2 separate regions of the Homo sapiens genome follow, and region 2 is linked to region 1. Evidence: promoter capture Hi-C in human tissues and cell types (Jung and others, 2019). All regions are on one chromosome and are shown on one strand. The core of a region is centred on a gene start or on the middle of the fragment in contact, and the rest is flanking DNA. Distances in the headings are between cores, read along the strand shown.

Region 1 (2,500 bases), core at 1-2,500:
TTTCTAGAAGGAAAACTCTGTTCCCCTCCGAAGAATGGGACTGAGGTAGGGAACGAAAGAGGGCGTTGTTTTTTATGCTATGCACGTCTATCCTGTTTGCTATCCTTACAAAAAAAAAAAAAAAAAGAAGGAAAACAAAAGAAAAAGGCCTTGTGGAAGCATTATTTCTATGTAAATGGGTTTCAAAATGAGTTTCAAAACGGGTTCTATTTTGAAAAGTAAGGTCAACATTTTTTGAGAAAAAAACTCCTGCGATTGGCTTTTCAAAAACAACCCTCTTAAGAGAGAATTTACATACCACAAATTCACCCATTGTATAGTGTAGATTGTTAACTGCCTTTCGTGCCGAGCTGTAAGAATTTATTTGGCATGAGAAACAAAATATTTTATAGAACCATGCACAAGAATAGCCTTCGTGTCTACGAAATCTAAGGATATCAAAATGAGATAATTTTATGACTGCAACAAGGGTAAATAATACTTGGCCTTGGGAATATGGGGGAAAGGTCAGAACTACAAGATCTCATAGAGCTTAACCACACCAAAAAAGAAAGAGAAAAGAAAGAAACAAAGAAAACAAAACAGAACGAGCAGACTCTAGCAGGGCTAATGACAGTCTTCCAAAGGCACCAGCACGTTGAACAAGCTGCGGCTCAGCTCGATGGACCCCCAAGAGTGGCTGCCACTGGGAGGACTTGGGCCTCTGAAACAAAGCCCGGTGGTTTCCTTTCATCTCTGAACTTCGAGCTCGACCTAACTTTCCAGTCCCTTCCCCCACCGCCACCCCATAACCCGCCCGAAGCGGCCCACGGAGGCCGGAGGTTTTGGGGCGCAGTCGCTCAGCAGCCCGAGGTCTCTGTCCCGGGCGGCGGGAGGGAAATGCCGCGCCCGCAGCCAGGGACCCGCGTGCCCAGCTTCGGCCCCTCGCCCGCGAAGTCCGACCCGGGTGACAGCGCACGGCCGGCCCTGGGCCCAGAGCTCCCACCTGTGCCCCGCAGCATGTTGTCCCGGAGCAGGTCCCCGCTGGAGAGGTGCTTCAGCTCGAAGTGTGTAGTGATGCGCGACGACACGGTGCCCTTGCCCGAGCCCGGGGCCCCCATGATCACCGCTCGCAGCAGCCGCGCGGACGCCCCCATGGCCGCAGACTGAGGCCCGCACCGCGCGGGTACCAGGGCTTTGGCCTGGCCTGCGCGCTCACCCGCTCGGCAGCCTGCGCCGGCCGGCTAGCAGCGCCACTAGCAGGCGGCTACTGCGGTTCCCCGGCGTTCCCGGAAGTGAGCCGACAGCCCCTGGGGCCGCCCAGACAGCGCGGGACCCCGCTGTTGCGTCCGCCTCTCGGCTACCCCGGCGCACCCCCCGCCCCCGACCGAGCGCCTGTTCCCGCCCAGCCGCGCAAGCCGCGCAAGCCGCGCCCCCTCTGCGCTCGCTCGGCCGCCCAGCTCCCACCTGCGCCTCTCCGCGGCCCCTCTCCACCGGCCGCTGGGCCCGGATCCCTTCGGCGCCCCTCTGCACCCACCCCCACGCGCCCTCCACTCGGCTCAGATCTACCTCCGCGCCTCTCCGCGACCCCGGAACCCCGCGCCCTGTCCGGCCCATTCCCAGCCGGATAGACCGCGCTCCCCTCTGTCCGACCTTGGCAACTCCTGCGCGCCCCCTCCCCACCTCTAGTCGCCCCTCGGAGCCGCTTGGTTTCGGGATCCACCCGCATCCACCCCTCCAACAACCCTTTCGTAGCCCTCGCCCCTAGTCCATAGCAGGCGCTGCCCTACCCAGTCCTTGCCGGACACACCGCGACCCCTTTCGTGCTCCCTTGACAACCCTGGCCCCACCTCCACCTGGCGCCCACTCGAATCCGCCCCTCCCTTCTACCCCCCTGGACCGCCAGACCCCCCGCTTCTGCACCCACTCCCGCCTTCGCCCTTCCCTCCTTCCTCCTCCTCCTCTGCTGCCGAGCGCCCTCTCTTCCCACTCCCTCTCTGTGTAGAATCACAGGGAGTGACCTTGAGCCGAGAGGGCCTACCTCATTTTACAGGAGAGGAAATCCAGCTTCCATTGAGTGAGACTCTTTTATAAATAACGTAAAAGAGTGTGTGAAACTGTGGAGGCAGGCTGTTGTAGATAGGCGGTCGGAAAAGCTTTGAAGAGATGGCATGTGTGCTGAGTGCTTAATTAGAATATGGAAGAGAGAGACATGGGCCCTTCCTATGTCCAGTTTTAGGAAAAGGCCCTAAAACTGGAGGTTTGGCATGTTTCAAGAATGGAAACAGAGGACAAAAACGTTCGAGTGAGTATCATTTTGCCTGTAAAATGGGCATAGAGGAGTAGAATGGAGGAGTTAAAATAATGTAGTACTTAGTGCAATGCCAGCTACGGGGTCAATGTTCAATAATGGTTGTCCATTTATCATCATTGCTTTGTCCCGGACACTATGCTAAGGCAGAAAGAAGGCTCTCTGAAAATAAAACACAGTTACCATTCTCCTCAGAGGTCCAGAACTGAT
Region 2 (6,638 bases), core at 953-3,452, 330 kb after region 1:
CTTTTACAAAGATTTTTAAAGGCGTACGAAGAGAAGTAGGAGACTACGGTCAACTGCATGAAACAGAAGTTCTTTTAAAAGTTCTGGATAAAGCACACAGAAACTATTCAGAGGTGTGTATGTTCTTTATATTGTTCATGTAGTTTATGCTGTTTAAAGATGTGCTCTCATATGCATACAACGTACTCATGTGTGCAGCTTTTCAAAATTGTAATTTTTAAATGTGTCAAGGACTTTTCTGAGGATACATTCTTGTGGGGCTATAGAATTACAGGGTTTGAAAATTACCGGATTAAAAAAATTAATTCCAAACTAATTATGTTTAGCATTATGTTAGGAGTGTTATTACATTTCTGCATATACTGTGGCCTTGATTTTCAAACTTGGCTCCCCAGAGCTTTATGGGTTACACAGAGGCTCCTCTACAATTACATTTATTTGAAAAAAAAACAAAAAACCAAGTTTCAAAGGCACTGTACTAAGGAACATGCTTAGTGAAATCTAGATGCCTCTGGGCATCATCCAGAGATGCTAGCTGGCAGACCCCGTGGCCAGTTGCCAGAGCTCTGAACATAGCAAGATATGATACTTACAATATCTTAAAGGGTGTTGGTGTTAGAAGATGATGTGAAAAGTTCAAGCCAAAGAGTTGTTCTAATCCAGAATACCACAGTATTGGTGATTGTGATTCACTAATCATACCCAGGGGTTCTAGTCACAGTTTAGTTGAATTAGAGTGATGTTAAAACTATGCTAGTATCCTGACACAGATGTCGTGATATTTTATCTGCACATTCTTAATTCTTTAGCAAGTGTTATTTAAAGGCTACATCCATCTACCTCAGTTTCCTATATCTATCTCTGACATCTACCTCTAGTTGTACTTCTGTCCTCTATTTCAGGTGTTATGGGTCAAGCCTGTTTGACTGGCATTATTCATGATTCCTGTACCACTCTTGCTCTCTCTCACTTTGATCTCCATATTCCAGGCTTACACAGGGGTTTCCTCAGAACGTTGATGGCAGTTGCAGGTCCATATAAAGGGACCAAAGCACATTGTATCCTCATCTATAGTCATGCTGAAAGTAGGAGAAAGTGCATCTTTATTATGGCAGAGAGAATTTTCTGAACTATTTATGGACAACAGTCAAACAACAATTCTTTGTACTTTTTTTTTTCCTTAGTCTTTCTTTGAAGCAGCAAGTATGATGAGCAAGCTTTCTCACAAGCATTTGGTTTTAAATTATGGAGTATGTGTCTGTGGAGACGAGAGTAAGTAAAACTACAGGCTTTCTAATGCCTTTCTCAGAGCATCTGTTTTTGTTTATATAGAAAATTCAGTTTCAGGATCACAGCTAGGTGTCAGTGTAAACTATAATTTAACAGGAGTTAAGTATTTTTGAAACTGAAAACACTGTAGGACTATTCAGTTATATCTTGTGAAAAAGGAAAGCAATGAAGTTAAAAGTAGAAGGTTACAATGCCCAAACAATAGAGTATTATAGTAAACAAATGTCTATAAAACATTTTGTGTTCATGATAGCAAAAGAGATTATGGCAGGTTCAACATAACATTGGAATAACTGGCCTTTTCAGTACAAACTTATCTGGAATTATGAAGACAAAGCATATAAATGATACACTTAATTTTTAATGGAACTGACAGAAATGATTATGTTGATATGATACTAGATATATTTTTTGGCTAAATTTAGGTGTTCACAGAAACTACTAAAAGTATAAATCGTACCCCATGCTTTAATACTATACAGGCATGCCTCATTTTATTGCACCTTGCTTTATTGTGCTTCTTAGATATTGTATTTTTTACATATTGAAGGTTTACGGCAACCCAGTGTCTAGCAACTCTGTCAGCAACATTTTCCCAACAGCATGTGCTCATTTCATGTCTCTGTGTCATATTTTGGTAATTCTAGCAACATTTCAAACTTTAAAAAAATCATATGGTGATCTGTGATCAGTAATCTTTAATGCTAGTATTGTAATTATTCTGGGGTGTCCCAAACAGAGAGAATATAAGAAGGCAAACTTCATAGATGAATGCAGTGTGTGCTCTGACTGCTCCATCAATGAGCCATTCCTCTGTCTCTCTCCCTCTCCTGGGGCCTCCCTATTCCCTGAGACAACAATATTAAAATTAGGCCATTTAATAATCACACAATGGTCTTTAAATGTTCAAGTGAAAGGAAGATTCACCCGTCTCTCACTTTAAATGGAAAGCTAGAAATGAAGCAGCAAACGCTGATGTGGAAGCTGCAGCAGTTATCCAGAAGATCTAGCAAAGACCATTGATGAAGATGGCTTAGAGAGGAAGGCATGCTGAAAGCCAAGACAAGCTGAAAGCTAGGCCTCTTGCACTAAAAAGGCAAGTTATGAATCCAAAGGAAAAGTCCTTGAAGGAAACTGAAAGTGCTACTCCTGTGAGCACATAAATTACAAGAAAGTGAAACAGTCTTATTGATGATACAGAGAAAGTTCTAGATAGAAGATCAAACCAGTCACAACATTCCCTTGAGCCAAAGCCCAATCTAGAGCAAGATCTTAATGCTCTTAAATTCTATGAAGGCTGAGAGAGGTGAGGAAGCTGCAGAAGAAAAGTTGGAAGCTAGCAGAGGTTGGTTCATGAGGTTTAAGAAAAGAAGCCATGTGCACAGCATAAGTGCAAGGTGAAGCAGCAAATGCTGATGTGGAAGCTACAGCAAGTTATCCAGAAGATCTAGCAAGGACCATTGATGAAGATGGTGACACTAACAAACAGATTTTCAAATGTAAACAAAACAGCCTTCTGTTGGAAGAATATGCCATCTAGGACTTCCACAGCTAGAGAGGAGAAGTCAGTGCTTGCCTTCAAAGCTTCGAAGGACAGGCTGACCCTCTTGCTAAGGGCCAATGCCATTGGTGATTTGAAATTCAAACCAGCGCTCATTTACCATTCCAAAAATCCCAGGGCTCTGCGAATTATGCTAAGTCTACTCTGCCTGTGCTCTATACATGGAACAAGAAAGCCTAGATGACAGCACATCTGTTTATAGCATGGTTTATTGACTATTTTAAGCCCATTGTTGAGACCTGCTCAGAAAAAAAGATTGCTTTCAAAGTATTACTGATCATTGACAATGCACCTGGTCACCCAAGAGCTCTGATGGAGATGTACAAGGATATTCATGTTATTTTCAGGCCTGGTGACACAACATCCATTCTGTAGCCCATGGATCAAGGAGTTATTTCAACTTTCAAGTCTTATTATCTAAGAAATACATTTTGTAAGGCTAAGCTGCCATAGATAGTGATTCCTCTGGTGGATCTGGGTAAAGTAAGTAGAAAAACTTATGGAAAGGATTCACCATTCTAGATGCCAGGAATAGCATTCATGGTTCATGGAAGGAGATCAAAATGGCAGCATTAATAGGAATTTGGAAAAAGTTCATTCTAACCCTCCTGGATGACTTTGAGGGATATGGTACTTTAATGAAGGAAGTCACTGCAGAGATGGTGGAAACAGAGAACTAAGAAGTGGAGCTTGAAGATGTGACTCAATTGCTACAATCTCACGATAAGCCCTGAAAGAAGGAGGAGTTGCTTCTTATGGATAAGCAGAGAAAGTGGTTTCTTAAGATGGAATCTACTCCTAGTGATGATGCTGTGAACATTGTGAAATGACAACAAAGGGTTTGGAATTTTACATAAACTTGATTGATCAAGCAGTTGCAGGGTTTGAGAGGACTGACCCTGTAAAGTTCTACTGTGGGTAGAAGGCTATCAAACAGCATTGCATGCTACAGAGAAATCTTTCATGAAAGGAAGAGTCTGCAGTGAATTTCATTGTTGTCTTATTTTAAGAAACTGCCACAGCTACCTGAACTTTAAGCAGCCACCACCATGATCAGTCAGCAGCGATTAACATCAAGCAAAAAGATTACAACTTTCTGAAGGCTCAGATTATCATTAGCACCTTTTTTGGCAATAAAGTATTTTTAAAAAGATATATTCTTTGTTTTTTTTAAGATATAACGCTGTTGCACACTAAATAGACTCCATTATAGTGTATATACAAGTTTTATATGCATTGGGATACCAAGAAATTCATGACTTGCTTTATTATGGTAGTCTAAAACCAAACTGGTAATATCTTCGAGGTATGCCTTTATTTTAGTGCCTCACAAAGTTTACATTCAAGAAAATTGTTTATATAATTCCCTATTTTCCACTAGTAATGCAGATTAAATACACATCTACACTTGTATGACATTTTTTCATATCTTTGAAAATTGATAATCTTCTCAAAAGCAGTGGTTTGGAACCTGTTATATGGAGGTATCTGAGAGGCTCCTGTGGACCATGAAGGAATCCAGGATTGTTTTTGGAAGCCAACACTTGTTTTTCTGGCAAAATATGTTTTATATATTTTTTTAAAAAAGTTTTAAAGATAAAGCAGCGCAAAACATTTCTGTATTTTTTGCAGAATTAAAAGATTAAATGGAGCTAGAACTCAAATTCTCCTTTATGTCTATAGTACTATAGACAATTGTTAGTAATTTTTGTGTGTAGAAGAACTTCAGGAAGGTTTGAATGTCTAAAAAGTTATGTGGAAGAGAAATTGAGAAATTTTCATTTATTTTTAAAAACCAGCCATAATTCAGTACTAATATATAAAGGTGTGCTGGTATATTATATATTATACATTTATGTTATATATAATAATATATAATTGTTTAGACTCCTACTCTTGCTGTTGTAAGTAAACTAAAAACCAAAAATATAATGCTGTGTATCCATTAAGTTTTCTTTAAAGTTGTGAGTTTTGCCAATTTAATTTCTTTACCTATAATGGTCACATGTAAGTATAAAGATTTAAATTACATATATTTAATTATATTTATACTTAAGCCTTATTATTATTACTTATATTTTAATGCAGATATTCTGGTTCAGGAGTTTGTAAAATTTGGATCACTAGATACATATCTGAAAAAGAATAAAAATTGTATAAATATATTATGGAAACTTGAAGTTGCTAAACAGTTGGCATGGGCCATGCATTTTCTAGTAAGTAGTACAACCTTTTTATCAAAAGATACTATTTTATTTTATAAAACAATATACAAATTATCTTTACCTGGAAACAAAAAATAAATCTGTAATTGGATGCCAATTCATGTAAAATAGTCTGTGTTAGGTGATAAAAAGAGATTACTTTAGGCATATGTTTATGTATGTAAAATCACTTTTGAAAAAAAAGTTTTGTCATCCCATCAATATCTTAGAACTACTAATAGACAATCTGTATGTTGTGTCTTTTGGATTTAGAAAATTCAACCAAAAATTATGCAGAAGTATGTGCTTCTGTATTTTTGGGCCATTGTACATTATGGTCCATGAGAAAGCGGTGTTGACAGAGAAGAATACCAGGGGGACTGCCAGTCATCAGACCCCTCAGGGTGCACCTATGTCCTGCTGCAGAACTGAAGTAGTATTTCTTAATGTCAGCTCCCATCCAGAAACACAAACCATGTCAGCCTTAGAACTCATGTGAAATGGCATTGGTAGTTTTAATTTATTCATTTCATCACAAGCATAGATTATTGTGTTATTTAAAATGTAAAACAGGAAGCATAGGAGTCATAAATTTCCTTTTTTCTCAATGCATGCCTCCAAATTATTATACTATCATGTATTTTTCTTCTTTAAATCTGTTTTGGGGGCTTGAACATACTAAATGCTCCAGTACTTGTGGACTGATATTTGAATATATGTGCGTTTAACTCTAATAGGAAGAAAACACCCTTATTCATGGGAATGTATGTGCCAAAAATATTCTGCTTATCAGAGAAGAAGACAGGAAGACAGGAAATCCTCCTTTCATCAAACTTAGTGATCCTGGCATTAGTATTACAGTTTTGCCAAAGGACAGTAAGTTCTAGAAGGATTATATATAATGTTACTAAGCTTTACTTGGGCAGTGGTGTAAAGGGCATGTTGTTAATTTTCCTTGAATTCCATTTAATTTGTATGTTCCTGATTAATAATAAAATTATCACTTTTAGCAATTTAAATTGTTAGTTAAATCTTAGTCTCTATTTTTCTTTCTTATAAGCATATAACCATGGACTGTGAGGTGATTTTTTAAAAACAGTTTTAATCTCTAATTATGTATGAAGGATAGGATTTTATCCATTTTTAGTATGAAGTTTTGTAATATTCCTTGAGCCACAAGTAAATTTTCTAAATATTCTTTTCTTCTCGTCACTAAATAAAAATTTAGCCTGAGATTTTAGGATTTTTTTCTATCCTCTGTGAAGAAATTAGTTTAATTATCCAGCTAATTCTGACTTTTTAAAACCTTAAAAAAACTTTGATTTGTGTTTGTTCATCTTTACTACTTAACACAGTGGGTTAAAAATACAAATTTCAGTCAGATAGTTGAGAGGGGTTTTTTGGGTCTAGATAATTATAACTGAATTTTGTTATCTTAGATAATTTCTCTAATTGGATGTTCTAAATTTAGATTCTAAATTGATCAATTTTTGTGCACTGATGTGTCCTATTTAAGCTAATAGTACTTAAACTTAATGACTTATCTGACAGTGAAGACAGTGATAACTGGGCAGTAGTACAGG

Evidence for each region. The method cuts DNA at HindIII sites, captures the fragments that hold promoters and counts their contacts. A contact is called where the count stands out against the background at its distance.
Region 2: a contact is called between a fragment that was not itself captured here and the fragment with the promoter of AK3 in region 1, in 1 of the 25 tissues and cell types used here (lymphoblastoid cells).

What each region holds. Positions count from the first base shown.
Region 1 is chr9:4,739,952-4,742,451 of GRCh38, forward strand. AK3 (adenylate kinase 3) reads right to left here and starts at 1,251. Exons shown (of 5, transcript NM_016282.4): 1 at 986-1,251. The coding sequence starts at 1,136. RefSeq lists silencers at 781-920, 1,151-1,640. The HindIII fragment of the contact is 7,449 bases long and covers 1-2,500 here.
Region 2 is chr9:5,072,514-5,079,151 of GRCh38, forward strand. JAK2 (Janus kinase 2) reads left to right here. Exons shown (of 25, transcript NM_004972.4): 13 at 1-113; 14 at 1,185-1,272; 15 at 4,940-5,067; 16 at 5,793-5,931. It also overlaps a transcript of INSL6 not described here. Among named protein-coding and RNA genes, the nearest start is that of JAK2, 91 kb to the left of the region's middle. The HindIII fragment of the contact is 4,435 bases long and covers 1-4,420 here.